Linked DNA regions of Homo sapiens: all the other regions are linked to region 4. The links are contacts of gene promoters, found by promoter capture Hi-C in blood cells and fetal thymus (Javierre and others, 2016). All regions are on one chromosome and are shown on one strand. The core of a region is centred on a gene start or on the middle of the fragment in contact, and the rest is flanking DNA. Distances in the headings are between cores, read along the strand shown. Region 1 has its middle 56 kb from the start of CCNE1. Region 2 has its middle 64 kb from the start of UQCRFS1-DT. Region 3 has its middle 17 kb from the start of URI1. Region 4 holds the start of POP4 (POP4 ribonuclease P/MRP subunit).

Region 1 (5,190 bases), core at 139-2,638, 260 kb after region 4:
TACTTGGGAGGCTGAGACAGGAGAATCGCTTGAACCCTGGAGGTGGAGATTGCAATGAGCCGAGATCTCGCCATTACACTCCAGCCTGGGCAATATATCCAGACTCCATCTCAAAAAAAAAAAAAAAATAAGTCCACAAACCCTTTGATGATCGTCCCTTCAAGATGTGGATCATGGACCTTAATTTCCCTCCCTGGTAGTGTGGGACAGACCTAGTGACCCACTTCTAACCAAGAGAATCTAAGAGAGTGACAGGATGTGACTGAGGTTAAAGCATAAACGGTACGAGGAGTTCCTCTGTCTCTCATCACTTGATGTGAGGGAAGCTGTGTTGTGAACAGCCCCATAGATGCCCTTGGGACAAGGAACAGAAGTCTCCTGCCAACAGCCACATGAATGAGCTTCAAAGAGGATCCTGCAGCCTCAGCCCAGCCTCAGAGGGCTGCAGCCTTGGCCGACACCCGGTTACAGCCTCCTGAGAAACCTTGAGCTGGGACCATTTAGCAGAGCTGCTCCTGGACCTGACCCGTAGAAACTGTCAGATAACAAACATCTCTTGTTGTAAACTGCTAAGTTTTGGGGTAATTTGTTACCCTGCCATAGATAAATAATACAATCTGTAAAGAAACACAAATTTCTATGTTAACAGTGGAGAGGTACCCATTAAAGGAAATGAAAAGTATTGTGGAATTTCTGAATTAATACGGGTAAAGAATGATGAAAAACCTGAGCCAACCATCAAAGAAAAGTAAATGGGAAAGGGAAAATAACAATAATTTAGTAAGCATAAACCAGAAAAATGTAATAAAATCAGTAAACACACAATAAGATGGAAGAGGTTAAACCCATTATATATCATCTATCATTATAAATTATGAATTTTCCTATCAAATTGGAAAAAAAGAAAATTCAAGTAGATGCTGTTTATATGAGGCACATTTAAAATAAAGACACAATGAAAAGTTGAAAATTAATTGTTGAGCAAGGAGTTAATGGAAAAATGCAGACAAAAAAAGAAGCATAGTGGCAGTATGAAGATGAATCAACATGGAATCCAAGGGGCGAGGTCCTGAGCAGAGAAGGAGATTATGAAACATGGAAGTGCAATTCACAGAGAAACTAAAGTCTTCAGAAACATGTATGTACCAAATAATGTGGTAGCCAAACACATAAAGCAAAACTCCCAGGAATACACAGAGAACATGGTAAAAATATAATTATAATAGAAGGTATTTTAATACAAAGGACTAATTATCTGAGTATCTATTATTCAAGTCCCTGTAATTATAAGACTGCTTTGAAAAACAAAAGTATTCCTGGTACAATTACAGCAGCAACAATAATGATAATAAGAAATAACAAACGTTAAGCTCCTATGATGCGCCAGCCAAGGTTCTAAGTACTTTACATGTACTAACCCTTTTGGTCCTTACCACAAATTATATGTCATGATTTATTACTATCTGTTAGCCAAGATGACTATAATAATTTCTTCCATCCTTGTATATACAAACTTTTGCAATGTGACTTTATCAATTCCTCTTTTAAGAGGCAGAATGTATTTTTTTTTTTTTTTGAGATGGTGTCTCACTCTATTGCCCAGGCTGGAGTGCAGTGATGTGATCTCAGCTCACTGCAACCTCTGCCTCCCAGGTTGGAGTGATTCTCCTGCCTTAGCCTCCCAAGTAGCTGTGACTACAGGTGCACACCACACCACCATGCCCGGCTAATTTTTTTTGTATTTTTAGTAGAGATGGGTTTTTGCCGAGTTGGCCAGGCTGGTCTCCAACTCCTGATCTCAGGTGATCCATCCACCTCAGCCTCCCTAAGTGCTGTGGCGTGAGCCACTGTACCCGGCCTATTTTTATTTCTTTTTTTGAGATGGGGTCTCATTCTGTCACCCAGGTTGAAGTGCAGTGGCTCAGTCTCGGCTCACTGCAACTTCCTCCTCCCAGGCTCAAGTGGTCCTCCCACCTCAGCCTCTCAGTAGTGGGGACTACAGGTGCGAACCACCAAGCCTACCTAATTTTTCATATTTTTGTAAGAGACAGGGTTTCGCCATGTTACCCAAGCTGGTCTCAAACTCCTGAACTCAGGCAATCCAGCCCCCTCAGCCTCCCAAAGAGAATCTATTTTTATATCCATGAATCTGGTCTGGCTTTGCAACTTGCTTTGACAATGGGATGTTGTGGAAATTACTTTTTTTTTACTTGTGAGTTAGCCCTCAAGACACTGCACAGCTTCCACTCTTGGTCTCTTGGAACACTTCCACCATCGTGTGAAGAAGCCTGGGCTGGGCTGCTGAAGACCTGTAGCCAAACACCCATCATCAGACATGTGGGTGAGGCATCTTAGAACATCTGGTCCCAGCTGAGTTGCTGGATAACTATAGCTGCATTAGTAACCAAGGACAAGATCAGCAGAAGAGCCATCCAGCTGAGCCCACACCAAACTGCCACACACAGAATTGTGAGAAAACAAAATGGTTTTTGTTTAAAATTTTTGAACTGGTTTCTTTTGCAGAACTAGACAACTGAGAAACCATTCCCATTTTGCAAATGAGGAAATAGAAGCACAGGAAGGTTGAGTAATTTGCCCAAATTTTCACAGCTATGATTATGATTCTTAGTTAAGTCGTGACTTGAATCCAGTTACTAATGAATTGAGCTTTTATAAAATTATTATTCACTCAACCATTCCTCCCAGTTCACTGTTAGCATTTATCCTGGACAAATGCATCAGCATTTTTGATGGTCAGCCTCTCAATAATCGTAGAAATACCCCATAGTACAATATAATTCAAGTCAATTACAAAGTGAAACTACACATTTTGAAAAAAAAAAAAAAAAGGATTTTATGAAAGAGCAATATTGGGTGAGGTGCTGGTGGCTCATACCTGTAATCCCAACACTTTGAAAGGCCAAGGTGGGAGGATTGCTTGAGGCCACGAGTTCAAGACCAGCGTGGGCAACATAGTGAGAGCTTGTCTCAGTACATAAATAAAAATAAATGGTTTGATTATTGTGACAGAAGTTGTCAACTGTTACCCAATATTCATTCTGTTTTCACTGACATGAACCCAGTTTTGCCTAGGGTGGTAATGTACTCAGCTAAAAATCCTCTCCTCCCAGACTCTTCTGCAGCTAGGGGTAGTCGTGTGATGGTGTTTCGGCCAACGTAACATGAAAAATTCTACTTGTGGGGCTTCTGTGAAAGTTATTGCTTTCCCGATAAATAAGGGGCAGACTAAGGTGGCTCAAACCTTTTTGCCTTGAGTCATGCCCCCTTTGAACTGGAATGTGGATGAGATTCCTAGAGGTGCAGCTGCTACCTTGAGAAAGCAAATAGGAAACCTTCAGGAGGGTGAAGCGGGGGCCAGAAGGGCCACATCTGTGATGTTTTTCGTGTGCAATGGCACCAGCCCATCTGTTTGCCTTTGGATTTTTTTTGTCATATAAGAAAAATAAGCTCCTAGCTTGTTAAAGTTGCTAAATTGGGTTTCTGTCAAATGCAACCCTGACTGATACAAATAGCAAAGGATTAAGAGAGGCCCTTAGGACGATAGCTGAAGCCATCAATTACCTTTTGCAAAACACAGTAGTATTGCAGAAGTCAGATGTGAAGTGAAGGGTGTCTTGTCATGATATCACACAATTTTATTAGAAAAATTATACTTTCAAAAAGTCAACATTAGATTTATTATTTCTAAGCAAACTTTTTATTCAAGTATAACATACCTATGGGAAAGTACACTGGATTTATATTTGTCTTAAAAATGACATTGTTGCAATTATAACCTAAATTTCAGTAAATATTAGATAAAGTAAATGTCTTTTTTGTACTACTTGGTTTCATGTCTCGGTATAACATTATGCATGAAATTTTGCCCTCCCCCAAGTGGATTCACGCTAAAGTGTTTTTTCTTTTTCCTCTAATACAATTATTTTTGGATAATGATGATGACTTGTATCTCTTTCAGAAAGTAGTAGATTTCTGTAGAAAGGCCTCTGTAGGAGGCCGGGCGCAGTGGCTCACACCTGTAATGCCAGCACTTTGGTGGCCAAGGCGGGAGGATCTCAGGGAATCAAGACCAAAAAAAAAAAAAAAAAATTCTACCTGTTATCTTCTCTGATCATATCCTAGTGAAAACAGAAAGCAACAATTAAAAAAAAAATCCCTAACGCGGTGAAACCCCGTCTCTACTAAAAACACACAAAAAATTAGCCGGACATGGTGGCGGGTGCCTATAGCCCCAGCTACTCGGGAGGCTGAGGCAGGAAACTGGCATGAACCCGGGAGGTGGAGCTTGCAGTGAGCCGAGATCGCACTATTATTGCACTCCAGCCTGGGCGACAGAGGGAGACTCCGTCTCGGGGGAAAAAAAAAAAAATCCAACCCCCACCCCCACCCCCCGGCCCTCCCACTGCCCCTGCCTGCTCCCCTCAAGAATCATTGAGGAAAACAAACCCGTAATACTTACTTGGAAATTCAACCATTTCTTTTTTTCTTTTTTTTTTTTTTTTTTTTTGAGACAGAGTCTCGCTCTGTCACCCAGGCTGGAGTGCAGTGGCGCAATCTCGGCTCACTGCAACCTCCACCTCCTGGGTTCAAGCGATTCCCCTGCCTCAGTCTCCCGAGTAGCTGGGACTACAGGCGTCCGCCACCACGCCCAGCTAATTTTTTGTATTTTTAGTAGAGACGGGGTTTCACTGTGCTAGCCAGGATGGTCTCGTTCTGACCTCGTGATCTGCCCGTCTCGGCCTCCCAAAGTGTTGGGATTACAGGCATGAGCCACTGCGCCCAGCCTCAACTATTTCTTGACATGTGGATCAAAAAAGGAATTAAGGAGAAGAATTTTTTTTTTTCTGAGACAGAGTCTTACTCTGTGGCTCAGTCTGGAGTGCAGTGGCACCATCTCGGCTCACTGCAACCTCTGCCTCCTGGGATCAAGCAATTCTCTTGTCTCAGCCTCCCCAGTAGCTGGGATTACAGGCATCTGCCACCACGCCCGGCTAATTTTTGTATTTTTAGTAGAGATGGGGTTTCACCATGTTGGCCAGGCTGGTCTTGAGCTCCTGACCTCACGTGATCCACCCACCTAGGCCTCCCAAAATGCTGGAATTACAGATGTGAGCCACCATGCTTGGCCTCACAGACATTTTTAATTGTAATTAAAATTATAGTTACTTT
Region 2 (5,157 bases), core at 495-2,994, 330 kb before region 4:
TATCCTTGGACCCTGCAGCAGCCAAACTACAATACATAGCCACAGGCATTGGCTTTGCCCATCCAGTCCCCTCTATACAGCCCATTCATATGACCTGAGCACTAAATAAAGACCTCAGAATGGCAGAGATACAGCCAGGGAGCCGCTGCTTACTAAATTACTAAAATGTAATGCCTCACTGGGTTGGATGCCGGCATTGGCAGGGCTTTTGTTTGTTGGTTTGTCTATTTGTTTAGCAAAATTAGCAAGCAAAATTAAACCCTTGTCACCTTCTTCAGCCGGAATGTGAGCTGGAAGACCATTCTCCAGAGCAGAGCCTTCATTTGCAGGCTTTTCTATAACTGGGGAGCAGTGGAGGGACAGGAGGTGGAAGGGCACTGCTGTAACCACCACAGGGCATCTTACTCAGCCCCAGGAGTGAAAGTGGAAAGAAAAGCACAGGCAGAGAGACCTGCACACTTTCCCTGCTCCCTAGAGGACCCTGCCAATCCCGGGCTGTCTGGGTACTGCCTCCCAGGAGCTCTGTAGGAAACTGGAAAGGGAGTGGTTGGAAACACAGTCTCTGCAGTCGGAGCTGGAACAAGTCACTGAATCCCTCTGTGTCTCCACTTCCTTGTTTTATCTCAAGGATGATAATACTAGCATATATCTCCCAGGGTGGTTGTGAAGGTTCAATAAGGTGCATATGCAATATGCTTAGCACCAAAACTGGCTCGTAATTACATGCACAATAAATGCTAGCTTTCATTAATGCTGTCTGTCACGTGTGAGATAAAGCTACTGGTCCCAGGAGGCCTCTACTCCTGCTAGGATGCAGTTCCCTTGGGCAAATGGTACTCCCAGGGCTGGTGCGCAGCGCCTCTGAGCAGCTGACAGCCAAGATTAGATGAGTTAAGACTGTGTCTCCTACCTCCATTTGCAAAATCCTCTATAAAAAGGTAGAGTAGGTAAGGTGGAAGGAGAGAGTGAGTCACCCTTCCTGGAGCACAAGCCAGCGGCGCCCTGACCCCCACCTGTGCTGTGTCCCATCAAGCTCCCGTAAGAGGCCTGTGTACATCCTGCTGTCTTTCCCCAGCACAGCCTGCTTTGCACCTCCTCCAAGATCCTGCTATATGGAGGTGATTTGGGAGGAAGACAGGACCATGGGTTTCCCTGACCTGCCTATTTCTTTGTCCTAAATAGTGTTACCGAGCCCCAGGTCTTCAGGCATAAAGGGACCTCTCAGGCTGGGACAACACAGTGCATCTTAGAGGGAGCCACCATGAACTCTGGAACCTTGGTGCCACGTGACATCCAAGGACATTTGTGTAACTCAGCAGAGTAAATGAGGACAAGGAGGACTAAATTGCTATCTGAGATCGCCTTTCCCATCAGCAAGATGGTGGAACTGGGGTTCTCAGTGTCCAGTTTAAGTTGATTTAAAGAAACTTGAGAATTGTAATATGTATTGCATGCTGCAATCATGAACTATCGCTCATACCTGCTGCACATCTAGCCCCCCTCCCTTCCTCCGCTGCCACTTTTGGTCCAGCATGAAAAGACCTCCTAGCTGGTCTCCCCACATCCTCTTGTTCTCCTTCTGCCTACTCTGCACATGGCAGCCACAATGACATTTGTAAAATGGATATCTGGTCATGCTTCTCCTTTGCTAAGACCCTAGGAGGACCACCACTGCTGCTCAGCAACCCACCCCCCACTGGCTCTCAGCCACCCACTCCACCCCATCCTCTTTGGCGCCAGGCTCCAGCTGTCTCCATCATTGCCAGCTTTCACTGAGCTCTCACAGTAGGCCTGAAGCTCTTCCACTTATTGTATGACCTCATTTAGTCTCAACTCCTTGGGAGATATCTTCACAGAGGCACAGTGAAGTTAAATTATTTGGCTAGGATTGCCAAGCCAGGGCCCCAAACCTAGTCCCAGCCCATCTCTTCTATCTTAATAAATATCATCAGCTGCCCAGCATGTCATGCCAGATGCCCAGGAGCCACCTTCCATCCTCTTCCTCCATCACCCCCTATATTTACTGCAGCAGCAAGGCCTGTGGATTTTCATTCACCTGCCTCCCGTGCACACATTTGTCCCTTCCACTGCCGTCTCGCTGGTCCAGTCACCACCATCCCTCACTGGAACAACTCCAGCAGCCTCCTCGCTGGATGGCCTGCTCTAATCATGCCCTCTGTTTGTTTCTCTTCCTCTCTCCTTTCCTCCCTCCTTTCCTTCTTTGCTCTCTTCCTCTCTCCTTCCATCCTTTCTCCTTTTTCTTTCCTTTTTTTTTTTTTTTTGACAGAGTCTCACCCAGGCTGGAGTGCAGTGGCATGATCTTGGCTCACTGCAACCTCTGCCTCCTGGCCTCAAGCGATTCTCCTGCCTCAGCCTCCTGAGTAGCTGAGATTACAGGCATGAGTCACCATGCCCGGCTAATTTTTGTATTTTTAGTAGAGACGGGGTTTCACCATGTTGGCCACACTGGTCTCAAATTCCTGACCTCAAATGATCCACCCACCTCTCTTTCCTTTTATTTTATTTTATATTTTATTTTGCTTTCCTTTTATTTTGAAATGTAGGTTTTCTTTCTATTGAGGTATGATGGATTGAGCAGAGCAGGAGACACTTGCTATTAAAGAGAGAGCTTGTTACGCACAGTTCCCAAGAGGAGGAGACACCATGCCATGAGGGGGCCACAGGGGGAAGAGGGAGGGAGGGGAAAGGGTGGACAAGAGCCTTTATGTGATTTCCATGGGAAGAAACAGACGAGGCAAACATGTAGGCTTAGGATCCACTAGTTTGTCCAATTTCAGCAGCCCCAGCATGCAGAGGCTGTCACTAGTTGTCTGATACCTGGCCCCGGGGTGATTAGGGCAAGGCCTGGCGTGATTGGTGGCTAAAAGTGAAAGAACCTACGAGAGCCCAGGAAAGGAAGTGGTCGGGGTGTGGGCTCTGGATTGATTGGTTTGTCGACCAAAGGGGAACTCGCAGGGGAGTTGCTTATTTTCTCTAGGAACTGCCTGTCCCTGGGAGGGGCAGTCCCTCCAGGGTGAAGTCCCCAGCATCTCAAAACATCAGAAATACAGAAAATAAAAAGGCATGGTTAGTATTCTTTCCTTCCTTCTTTCCTTCCTTCCTTCCTTTCTTCCTTCCTTCGGAGAATCTCTAAAGGAAATAGCATACCCTAAATACAGTTGAAACCCCCTTCCCCTACAAAAATCATACATATGATTACATATGCATAATCTCTAAGTTAGATATGATATCTATGCATTTCTATAAATTTTCTAAAGGTATTTTGTCTCTTTGCCTTATGTGCCCCCTTCCCCTACAGCACTTCTCTCATTCTCCATCAAATGCCTGAATGTTTCTAAACTTTGCATGAATTATATCTTGAGTATATGATGTGTGTGTGTTTGTGCATGTGTATGAAGAGAAAGTTTCCAAGATACATTCAAGAAGAGTAACAAAAGGCAAAAATAGACAGAATTCGATGTGAAAGTGCCTCCTAAAGAAACAAGCAGCATGAACAAGAATAAACCTATCCCCTACACCTCACAGTCAACCGCAGGGCGCCACGGACAGGGAGAAACACAGGAAAGGCCATCGGAAGGGAAACGACCAACCACCAAGGGGTGCCCATTGACTGGGTGGAGAACAGACTTCCCAACCATAAGCGGCGCAATAATATCTTCAGAGGCCAAAATAAAATGAAAAGCCAACTTGGAACTCTATGGCCAATTAAGCTTTTCGGACATAAAAAGTTTACTACCCACATATCCTTGCTCTAAAAAAAGAAAAATCTGTGACAAGAAACAACTCAAAATACACACATACATGAACCAAAGGGAAGGAGGGGAAAGGAAAGACAACAATTGATAGACTATGTTTTATTTATCATGGACAGTTTCAGAAAAAAATCTATTTTCCCTAAATTACGGAGGATGGAACTAAAACAGAGAAAAAAGGAAGGGTGTTCCCTGAAGGGTTAAAGCATATTAGGGTCTTACCTTAAGACCCTAAGAAAAGGAAACAAACACACGAAATACCTTTAACAAATTTATAGAACTGCATATATTATACCTAATTTGGAGATTATACATTTATAATCATATATACGATTAAAAATCTAGGAGTACAAACACGCTTTGTCGTTGCTCTTACAAAACCTGAGATCACAGCAAACATTGTTCTTCAACTTAACTTTTTCCCTTGGTACATGTTGTCATCTCTCCAGCTCCGTGTTCTGGCGCTTACACACCAGTCCTTTGTTGAAGAACAGGTGATTCTGTTCCAATTTGCACTACTGCAAACCATGTTTTAGAGAAAGTCCTTGTATGCATAGTTTACACATTTTAGAGACCCAGATTAGAACCACGTTCACAGCAAGGTTTGCTCAAGGAACAACGAATAGCTGATAAGCATATCTGCATAAAACTCAAGAGGTTCTACATAAGATTCAGACTGCCACCTGCCCTGGGAAAGCTGCAATGTGCTCAGTAGCACCTCAGCCCTGGCATTCCCCAAGCACCACCAGCAGCGGGCTGACAAGAGCTGTCTTGGAGCAGGACCTGCACACTCTGGTCTGCCTCAAGCTATTTCTTCACTGATTTCTCACTGGCCAGACCCAGCAGGCTTCTAAGTGTGTCAATGCCTTGAGGTTGATTACATTCATAACTATTTTTTTATTTCTTTTTAAATTCTTTTTTAAGAGAGTCTTACTTTGTTCCCCAGGCTGGAGTGCTCACTCCAACTTCTGCCTCACAGGTTCAAGCGATTCTCGTGCCTGAGCAACTCAAGTAGCTGGGATTACAGGTGCAGGCCACCATGCCCAGCTAATTTTTATATTTTTAGTAGAGACAGGGTTGCGCTATATTGGCCAGGCTGGTCTCAAACTCCTGACCTCAGGTGATCTGCCCACTTCAGCCTCCCAAAGTGCTAGGATTATAGGTGTGAGCCACCGTGCCCGACCCTTTTAAAACTTTTGTAGATTCACGGGATACACATGCAGATTTGTTACATGGATATATTGCACAAGGGTGAGGTTTGTGCTTCTAGTGTGCTTTGACATCACTCAAATAGTGAACGTTGTACCCAGTAGGTAATTTCAACCATCACCCCTCCCACCTCGGCTTTTGGAGTCTCCAGAGTCTATTATTCCCTTTGTGTGTC
Region 3 (4,780 bases), core at 1,543-4,042, 320 kb after region 4:
TTCAGTGACTGCTGTACTCACACACAGAGTAGAAAATGCTTGCACAAGTGGGATCAAGCATTTTCCCACTTTCATAACCATGCCCCATGGCGTTGCCACTGATATTGCCCTGCCTAGCACTGGAAAGAGGAGGTAGTGAGGGCAAATGGAACCTCTTTTGCTCAGTCCAGGGAGCAATAGGCAGCTGTCACCCACAAACGACATGGCTCCCACAATCTACTTCCCAGATCATAGTCCTGCCTAGCTGGGACTGGAGGTAGGATACAAGTTAGAGGTGTATTCCAGCCCCAGGGTGCTGGGTGAGGCCTGGGGATGTGTCCCTGCCCACAAGATAGAACTGGAATCTTCACGTCCACCAGATTCTGGGCCTCTCTCCTATGTCACAGATGGGAATTCTTTCCACATTATTCCCAGTGGGTCTTCTCACTCTTTTCCAGGCTCCTTGGAGGTCACTGCCCTGATGACAACATGGTCTTCCCTTCAAGGAAGCCACGTTTCTAAGAGGGCTCTGGCATATGCATTGGTGAGTTGAAGCTTGACAGTGTTATAGCTTCTCTGCTGTTAGTGTGAGGTTTGAGGATTTTACTTTAACCACATGGATTAGTCAGAGAAACAGAATGAACAAGATACAGATGGCGCTGTAGACATAGCTATAGACCTGGAAGAGGGGCTTTATAATGGAGATTGGCCTGAGTGATTAGGAGCCTAAGAAGTCCCACAGTATGTCATCTGCAGGTTGAAGAGCCACGGAAGCTGATGGTATCATTCAGTTTGAGCCTGAAGTTCTGAGAACCAGGAGCTTCAACGTCCCAGGGCAGGAGAAGGTGGATGTCCCAGGTCCAGAAGAGAGTGAATTTGCTTTTCCTCTGTCTTTTTGTTCTATTTGGGCCCTCAGTGGATTGAATGTTGCCCACCTACATTGGTGAGGGCAGATGTTTTTTACTCGGTCTACTGATTCGAGTACCAATCTCTTTGAAAACACCCTCCCAGATGCACCCAGAAATAATGTTGCACCTGCTATCTGGGTATCCCTTAACCCAGTCAAGCTGACAGCTAAAAGTAACCATCACACCACACTTTCACAAACACCTGGGTGCTTGCGGACTCACCTTTTACAATGGTTTTACCAGCCTCCTCCACAAGCACAGGCAAAGTCAGTTTCAAGGACAGGAGCCCCCCATTGTTGCTCGGTGTACTGGCGATCTAAACAAACACGTGCATTATAGGGGGTTTCTGTCATTTTTTAGCCACCTCGCTTTCATCCCTGGTCCTCATGACCCCTTGATTTCTTTCTGAGGAATTCCCTCCCTCCCACTGTGAGAACAGAGGGGCCAGGCCCTCCGTCTGTCTCCCAGCTCTAGGAGAGCCAGGGGTTGAGCCCCAGGCCAGAGCTCAGCCAATCAGAGGCTGTCCTGTGAGCAAGTGATACCGGGACTGATGGGATGGCTGGAGTGTGTGTTGCACAGATGCAACAGCAGCACACTGACCAGACCATGCCCCTGTGAGAGCCGGGGTGGGGCTCCACTGCTCCCTAGGGCTCCCAGGAGCTCTGCCTGCCCTCAGCTTCCTGTCCAGGCTCTCTGAACCCCCTCTTATTATTTTGTTTAATTTTTAATTTTTTTTAGATGAAGTCTCCCTTTGTTGCCCAAGCTGGAGTGCAACAGTGTGATCTCGGTTCACTGCAACCTCCGCCTCCTGGATTCAAGTGGTTCTCCTGCCTCAGCCTCCCAGGTAGCTGGGATCACAGGCATGCACCACCACGCCCGGCTAATTTTTGTATTTTTGGTAGAGACGGGGTTTCACCATGTTGGCCAGGCTGGTCTCGAACTACTGACCTTAGGTGATCCCCCTGCCTTGGCCTCCCAAAGTGCTGGGATTACAGGCGTGAGCCACCACACCTTGCTGCACCCTCTCTTGTTGATCCTTCTTGCTTGGTTAGGCAGAGACAGCCTCCAATTCTTGCAGCTACAAGGCCCGCACATGAAGGACAAAATGTTTTGGTTAATAATGTCTTCATGTGTGTAAGTCCTGTTTTTGTTTTCCAGTTGAATTGAGAGTTCCTTTTGGGCAGGAACTCTTTTTTCCCTTTGTCCTGGGTCCGGTACTTGGCATGCAGTAGATTCTAGGGCAGAGCTGGAGGCAGGGGGAGGCTGCCTAGAGCCAGAGGGCTTGTGTGTGAGGTCCGCCCCTGCACTCACTCACTGGGGGACCTTGGCTGAGTCCCGCGGCATTTTCAGTCTAGACATTGCATCAATTAAACAGGTGTGATGCTTATAATGATCACCCTCCTTCTTGGCCTCAGGGCCTCTGTGAGGTTTTAATGAATGAAGGCTGAAGAAACTCCACAGAGATGGTGACTTTCCCCCAGCACAGCTCTTGCCCTCAAGGAAGAGACACTCGACCAAACAGGCAACTGGAAACAGGATGGCTTCGTGGGCGTGTGTGACTTACACAGGGCTGTGCACTCAGAAGAATCCCGTGACTGACTTAGGCTCTGCAGCTGCCATCTTGAAATTCTTAATAACTTTTGAATGGTGTTGGGGGTGGGGTTGGAGGGGATGGTCCACACTTTCATTTTGCACTGGGCACTACAAATTATGTGACCGGCTCTGATTAAAATGCTACAAGAACTAACATGAAACTGGACACAGAAACCAGACCCCAGAGCACATACCGTATGAGTCCATTGGTATGAAGTTTAAAAACAGATGGCACTAGTCCAAAGGATTGGAAGTTGGAATAGTGGTTACCAGGACTGGGGGGAGGAAGGGATGGTGGATGGTGAACAAAAGGACCTTGGAGGGCTCCTGGGGTTCTAGGAATCAATCTTCCTTCTTTCCTTCCTTCCTTCCTTCCTCTTTCTCTCTTTCTTTCTGTTTTTATTTCAATAGGTTTTTAAGGAACAGGTGGTGTTGGTTACATGAATAAGTTCTTTAGCAGTGATTTCTGATATTTTGGTGCACCCATTACCCGAATAAAAATCTTCTCTCTTTCTTCCTCTCTCCTTCCTTCCTTCCTTCCTTCCTTCCTTCCTTCCTTCCTTCCTTCCTTCCTACCTTCTTTCCTTCAACAGAATCTTATTCTGTTGCCCAGGCTGGAGTGCAGTGGTACAATTATAGCTTTTTGCAGCCTCAACCTCCTGGGCTCAAGTGATCTTCCTGCCCCAGCCTCCTGAGTAGCCAGGACTACAGGAATGTGCCAACATGCCTGGCTAATTTTAAAAAATTTTTTATAGAGAAGAGGTCTCACTATGTTGCCCAGACTAGACTTGAACTCCTTCCCTCAAGTGATCTTTCTGCATCAGTCTTCCAAAGTGCTGGGATTGCAGGCATGAGCCACCTCACCCAGCCTTAGAAATGTTCTGTTTCTTGACCTGAGAGCTGGATATACAGGATTGCTCACTTTGTGAAAATTCGCTAAGGATTTGTGCACTTTTCTGCATATGTGTTAAACTGCAGTACAAGGTTAAAAGAAAATGTGTGAAACGACCTATACATTGCAAAGGAAAGGCCAGGGTGTTGAGCTTGACCCACCTTGGGGATGCTCAGAGAAGGCTTCCCTGGAGAGGGGTCTGGGTCAGGTCCTGAAGGAGGAGCAAGGGATGGGGGTTGGGAAGTTTTGTGGCTCCCTACCAAGGGATGACGTGCCTGTCTGGCAGGAGCTAGGCTCATGCATGGCTCGGGAGAGCACCTGCTTGTACTGAGTCTGGCTCTGCCTGGGAGCTTGAGGATGCGAATGAATTGGAGACACAAAGACCAGCTTGTGGGGGCCGTGGACTCCACTCTCTGGGCTCGAGACTCCAGCTGCAGTGTGGAGGACAGCCTGGGGTGGGAGATGGGAGGCAGGGAGACCCTGCAGAGGCTACTGGACTTCCCAGGTGAGCAGTGATGGTGTCTTGGGCTGGGGGAGTGTAGACAGGAGAATGGATTCTGGAGACTTTATTCCAGTGGTAGCTGTGGTGGTCTTCACATAGGATCACAAATTCCTTGGCATTTGTCCCATCAAGAGATGAAGTCTAATTTCATCCCTCTTTTTTTTTTTTTTTTTTCTGAAATGGAGTCTTGCTGTCTTGCTCAGGCTGGAGTGCAGTGGTGCAATCTCGGCTCACTGCAACCTCTGCCTCCCAGGTTCAAGTGATTCTTCTCCCTCAGCCTCCTGAGTAGCTGGGATTACAGGCACATGCCACCACACCCGGCTAATCTTTTATTTTAGTAGACACGGGGTTTCACCATATTGGCCAGGCTGGTTTTGAACTCCTGACCTCAGGTGATCCACCTGTCTCGGCCTCCCAAAGTACTGGGATTACAAGCATGAGCCACTGCACCCGGCTTTTTTTTTTTTTTTTTTTTTTTTTTGAGACAGAGTCTCACTCTGTCGCCCAGGCTAGAGTGCTGGAGTGCAATGGCGTGATCTCAGCTCACTGCAACCTCCACCTCCTGGGTTCAACCAATTCTCATGCCTCAGCCTCCCCAGTAGCTGGGATTACAGACGCCTGCCATCATGCCCAGCTAATTTTTGTATTTTTAGTAGAGATGGGGTTTTGTTATGTTGGTCAGGCTGGTCTCAAACTCCTGACCTCAAGTGATCTGCCCACCTCGGCCTCCCAAAATGCTGGGATTAGGCGTGACCTACGGTGCCCGGCCTAATTCCATCCCTCTTGAATGTGAGCTGGCCTTAGTGACTTGCTTCTGATGAGTAGAATGTGGCTGAAGGGATACTACACGACACTCCAGGCTAGATTAGAAAAGGCCATGCCACTTCTGTCTGGCTCCCTTGGAAC
Region 4 (5,179 bases), core at 2,639-5,138:
GGAGGTCGGAGGGGAGTCACCTGCAATGATTCCATCAAACATTGACTTCTCGTGGAACTTTCACAAAGCCACTACTGGGAAAACACATGTGTATCCATGTTTGAAAGTTTATCATTTATAGCTATAAAAAAGAAAAAAATTAAAGTCTTTTCACCAAATGCAATTTAGAAAAGAGAAACAAAAGGAAAAATCTCCCATAACTTCACTTACCCGGTTATACAAACTTTTAGTATATTCATGTAACTATTGTGTATATATTTGGCTTTATTAGTTTGTAACCTTTTTAAAAATTGTATGTAATTTGTTTAATGGCTGCATGGTAATCCATCATGTTATAGAAATGTGTTAGCAGTGGCAGAGAACCGAGTTACCCCAAGTAACTGGAGACGAATCCGTACGCGTTCGCAGCAACTTCAATCTTTGCCTTGTCAAAAGAAAGAATTTGACTGAGGGGCAAAAAGCAGAAAGAGACCAAGGCAAGTTTCAGAGCAGGAGTGGAAGTTTATTAAAAAGCTTTAGGCCGGGCATGATGGCTCACACCTGTAATCCCAGCACTTTGGGAGGCCGAGGCGGGTGGATCACAAGGTCAGGAATTCGAGACCAGCCTGACCAACATGGTGAAACCCCATCTCTACTAAAAATACAAAAATTAGCTGGGTATGGTGGTGTGTGTCTCTAATCCCAGCTACTTGGGAGGCTGAGGCAGGAGAATCGCTTGAACCTGGGAGGTGGAGGTTGCAGTGAGCCAAGATCGTGCCACTGCACTCCAGCCTAGGAGATAGAGCAAGACTCCGTCTCGGAAAAAAAAAAAAAAAAAAGCAAAGCTTTTGAACAGTAAGGAAAGGAAAGAAAAGGAAAGTATTATACAAGTTGGAAGGACAAGCAGGCAACTTGAGAAACCAAGAGCGCAGCCTGACCCCTTGACTTGGGGTTTTACACGTTGGCCTACTTCCAGGATCTACTTCCAGGATCTTACATTACTTCTCCCCACTCCTGAGATCTTACAGGAAGCTGCTGATCAGTTTCAGGTGTTTTCTATCTGTTAGGCGGCTGCCTGTTCCCTAGCGCCAGCTGTGGCCAATTACTTTAGAGAAACAGTTAACAACCACCTGACCATCACCTGATGGTGGCCCAACACCCCTGGTGTGTGTAGCGGGGAGCCTTCTCCTGCCCTGCTCATACCTGACTACCTACCTACTGTAACAAATGTGCCATACCTAGGAACAGTTTATAAAAACAGATTACTGGGACCCACCTTATAAAAACAGATTATTGAGACCCACTGGATAAAAACGAATCTCCAGGTATGATACCAAGAAATTTGAAATGAAAGCTTACCCTGTGATTGTGATCCTGTATTTGGTCTGTGGATCAAGCAAATTAAGTGTGTGCTAACTAATCAGGTAAATTAATGCATTTAATAATGCATTAATTAGCATACCTAATTACCTAATTAGCACATAGTTAATTTGCTTGATCCACTATGATCAAATATAGCATTGTTTTTAAGTTTTTGCTATTATAAACAAAAATCACAAACATCCTCACAGGTATCTCTCTGCATACAGAAACATTTTCTGAGAATAATCAAGTGGTTTGTTTGCTTTTTATTTTTTTTGTTTGTTTGCTTTTTAAAAAATATTTTAGGCTGGGCGCAGTGGCTCACCCCTGTAATCTCAGCACTTTGGGAGGCCGAGGCGGGTGGATCATGAGATCAGGAGTTCGAGACCAACCTGACCAACATGGTAAAACCCTGTCTCTACTAAAAATACAAAAATTAGCTGGGCGTGGTGGTGTGTGCCTGTAATCTCAGCTACTCAGGAGGCTGAGGCAGGAGAATCACTTCAACCTAGGAGGCAGAGGTTGCAGTGAGCCGAGATCACACCATTGCACTCCAGCCTGGACAACACAGCAAGACTCCGTCTCAAAAAAAAAAATATTTTAATGATGAAGGAACTATGTTGTAATTGCAACTCAAGGACGACCCACCCCACCACCATCAGGGAATTCGAGGGGAGACTGGCAGTTATCCAGGGATCCCAGAAGGAGTCAACTGGGAGTTAAGAGTCCTAACAACCCTAGAAAAAAACTTTCAAAGACACAGGTCTTCTCATTAATCTCCATAATCACAGAGGTCTTGCCTAAAAGGGCCCCCCTTGAGTACACAGCTCTGAAACTGGCTAACATCTTCTGCTGTCTCATTTGATTTTAAAGTTCACATTTGTGAAGGGCTCTATTGTACAACATGGTGACTATAGTTAATAACAGTGAATTTCAGTTAATAACCTGAATTTCACTGAGAGTAGGTCTGAAGTGTTCTCATCACAAAATGAGTGTATTAGCATCGCTCATAGCTCATTTAGCCATTACACAATGTATACACATTTCAAACCATATTGTATACCATAAATACATACAATTCTTATTGGTTAATTTTAAAAATAATAAAAGTTCTCTATCAGTCCCATAAATTACAATTTTCAGGCATCTGCAAAGGCAGCATGTTTTGGTTTAAATGTGGTCTTTCCAAATTTTATACGTATAAAATAAATGCATAAGTGTACTACATATGCAAAAACTAATACATAAATTTTATAAAGTCAATGCACGCGGGGTCACTGGGATGAACCAATTTCAGTGCCTGCAGTCTAATGTTTAAAATCAAAATGGTACAAGGTCACCACCAAAGAAATTGTTTAAGCCAATGTTTCTCAAACTAAAACCTTTGGACATACTCCCAGAATCCCCTGTAAAGAAATGTATACTGTACTCAAAGTTGAGAACCACTGACTTAGCATAAAGGGACCGTATTTCTTTTCTCTCCCACCCAGCACAGGCCCAGTGCTCAGCAGAAATTGGGGCTCCACAGTTCTGCCCAACACTGGGTCACTGCTGAGAAGTCTGCACCAGGCCTTCCTGCACCTTTCCACTGAGCAATGGAGTTTGTTTATTCATTTATTTATTTATATGGAATTTATTTATTTATTTTGGAGACAGGGTCTCACTCTGTCACCCAGGCTGGAGTGCAGTAGCGCAATCCAGGTTCACTGCAGCCCTAAACTCCTTGGGCTCAACTGATCCTCCCACCTCAGATACCCGAGTAGTTGGGACTACAAGCACGCACCACCACGCCTGGATAATTTTTTTTAAATGTTTTGTAGAGATGGGGTCTCCCGATGTTGCCCAGGCTGGTCTCGAACTCCTGGGCTCAAGAGATCCTCCCGCCTGCGCCTCCCACGGTGTGAGCCACCTTTGATCTTATTGCTATGATTTTTTTATTGATAAAAACTAATAAATATTCTGAGTCTCAAGAAAGCTTTCTGAAACTATCAAAGGGACCCAGGCGGCGCATCACTACCTGTGAGGCCGACCCCACTCACAGCACAGACTGCAAGTGAGGCTTACAGATGGGAAGTGCCCTAAGCGAGGTTAAACAGCTAGTTAGCAGCAGACACGGAACTAGAACCTAAGCCTGCTGTCCCAGCTTCGGTGCCCGTGCTCACAGCGGAAGCTGCCTCGGCTCATCCGTAAGGGCGCTGATTAGGGACGACAAAGACCTCACCCCACCGTCCCCGTCCCATTTCCGCCCTCCCAGATCCCCAACCTCCTTCGAGTCCTCTCCAAGTCGCCTCGCCTCGCTCCACTCCAGGCCTTAGCAAGCATTCCACATGCCTTTACCCCAACCCTACTGCCTGTCCCCCAAAAGATGCAGGCGGAAAAGACCCCAGGAAGCGAGCCCACTCCTCCCCACTGCTCAGCAACACCGCCTACGACGTTCTCAGTAGCCGAATCCCTTTCCAGGCGCATGCGCCCCCGAGGTGGGCGAGCGCCGGTGATGTCACGCATAGCGCCATCTCCGAGCTCCGAGAGTCTGCGACAGCAGCTGCCAGTGCGTCATCAGAGAGCGCCGGAAGCGGTCCGAGAATGAAGAGTAAGCGGGGCCGCGAAGTTGGAGAGGGTTGGGGACGTTAAGGGTCGGGGTCTTGGTACTGGTGGGTGAAATGGGTCCGGGCTACCTGTTGCTGCGGAGTCCTAACAGAACCGCTACAGGAATGGGCCCACCCTACCTAAGAAAAACTGAGGGCTGGAGCACGGGTTAGCCTGGCTCGACCTCTGAGCTAGGGAGGGATGTCAGGGCTGGAGGCAGGTTCTCCCGGAGGCTGCTCAGTGGTGTGCGATGCTAGAGGAGGGTTCCAGGCCTTGGCTCAACTTGGCCACTATCTCCCGGGGTGACCGCGGTCAAGATCCTGCTCCTTTCTGCGAGCTGGTTTCACACTCTTAACCTGATGCAAAGCGCCGAGAGCTGCTGGGGAATGATATCACTAACCCAAAGCTTTGGTCCTTAGGGGTAGAAGACATGTGCCAAGGAGGGGCGTGTAGACACCGTTAAGACTGGGCCTTCAATCAGAATTTTTATTTTTCATCTCTGCCACTTTCTACCTATATGATCAAGTAGATTGTCTCGGCATGTCTGAGCTTCAGTTTGCTCATGCACATAAGTGTAATGAGAAAAAATATGTGTACCTTGTAATGAGGTTTCTGGCAAGTAATGGATGTTCAGTAATTGTTAGATGTGTATTGTTGCAGAAAGACTTCCAAGTCTGTTACTAAGCACCTGTAACAGATGAAGCAAAGTTATCAGGCCCCGCAAGTTGCTCTCTACAGTTTATAATCCCCATCTTCCATTTGAGGGAGAACTAGATGCTATATATAAAACTTGCAACCACATTGGTTTGCTTGATCAAACAAACATACCTGGCTGGGTGTGGTGGGACACGCCTGTGGTCCCAGCACTTTGGGAGGCTGAGGCAGGGGGATCACTTGAGGCCAAGAGTTGAAGACCAACTTGGGCAACAACATAGCGAGACCCTGTCTCTACAAAAACTGGAAAAAAAAAAAAAGAATTAGCCAGGTGTGGTGGCACACACCTGTAGTCTCAGCTACTCAGGAGACTGAGGTGGGAGGATCACTTGAAACCAGGAGGTCGAAGTTGCAGTGAGCTATGATTGTGCCACTGCACTCCAGCCAGGGCAACAGAGCAAAACCCAGTATCAAAACAAACAAACAAACAACAAAAAAAAAAAACTTGTAACCACCTTGCATCAAACATTCTCAGGGAAGTACAAGAAAGCTGGAATTAAATTTACAGAGTATAGTGTAAATTACATTTTCTAGCTAT

What was found. The method cuts DNA at HindIII sites, captures the fragments that hold promoters and counts their contacts. A CHiCAGO score of 5 or more calls a contact.
Region 1: a fragment that was not itself captured here is called in contact with the fragment with the promoter of POP4 in region 4 in 9 of 17 cell types (naive CD4 T cells, naive CD8 T cells, non-activated CD4 T cells and 6 more); the score reaches 15.7 in naive CD4 T cells.
Region 2: a contact is called between a fragment that was not itself captured here and the fragment with the promoter of POP4 in region 4, in 2 of 17 cell types (total CD8 T cells and naive CD8 T cells). The highest score is 7.7, in total CD8 T cells.
Region 3: a fragment that was not itself captured here is called in contact with the fragment with the promoter of POP4 in region 4 in 5 of 17 cell types (non-activated CD4 T cells, naive CD4 T cells, naive B cells and 2 more); the score reaches 6.3 in non-activated CD4 T cells.

Annotation. Positions count from the first base shown.
Region 1 is chr19:29,865,776-29,870,965 of GRCh38, forward strand. No RefSeq gene overlaps it. Among named protein-coding and RNA genes, the nearest start is that of CCNE1, 56 kb to the left of the region's middle. The HindIII fragment of the contact is 9,260 bases long and covers 1-5,190 here.
Region 2 is chr19:29,274,404-29,279,560 of GRCh38, forward strand. No RefSeq gene overlaps it. Among named protein-coding and RNA genes, the nearest start is that of UQCRFS1-DT, 64 kb to the left of the region's middle. RefSeq lists an enhancer at 3,023-3,072. The HindIII fragment of the contact is 3,970 bases long and covers 1-3,729 here.
Region 3 is chr19:29,923,232-29,928,011 of GRCh38, forward strand. It overlaps a transcript of URI1 not described here. Among named protein-coding and RNA genes, the nearest start is that of URI1, 17 kb to the right of the region's middle. RefSeq lists an enhancer at 4,585-4,780. The HindIII fragment of the contact is 4,520 bases long and covers 533-4,780 here.
Region 4 is chr19:29,602,395-29,607,573 of GRCh38, forward strand. It overlaps POP4 (POP4 ribonuclease P/MRP subunit), which reads left to right and starts at 3,889. Exons shown (of 7, transcript NM_006627.3): 1 at 3,889-3,931. The coding sequence starts at 3,925. RefSeq lists an enhancer at 3,542-4,031. The HindIII fragment of the contact is 1,017 bases long and covers 3,315-4,331 here.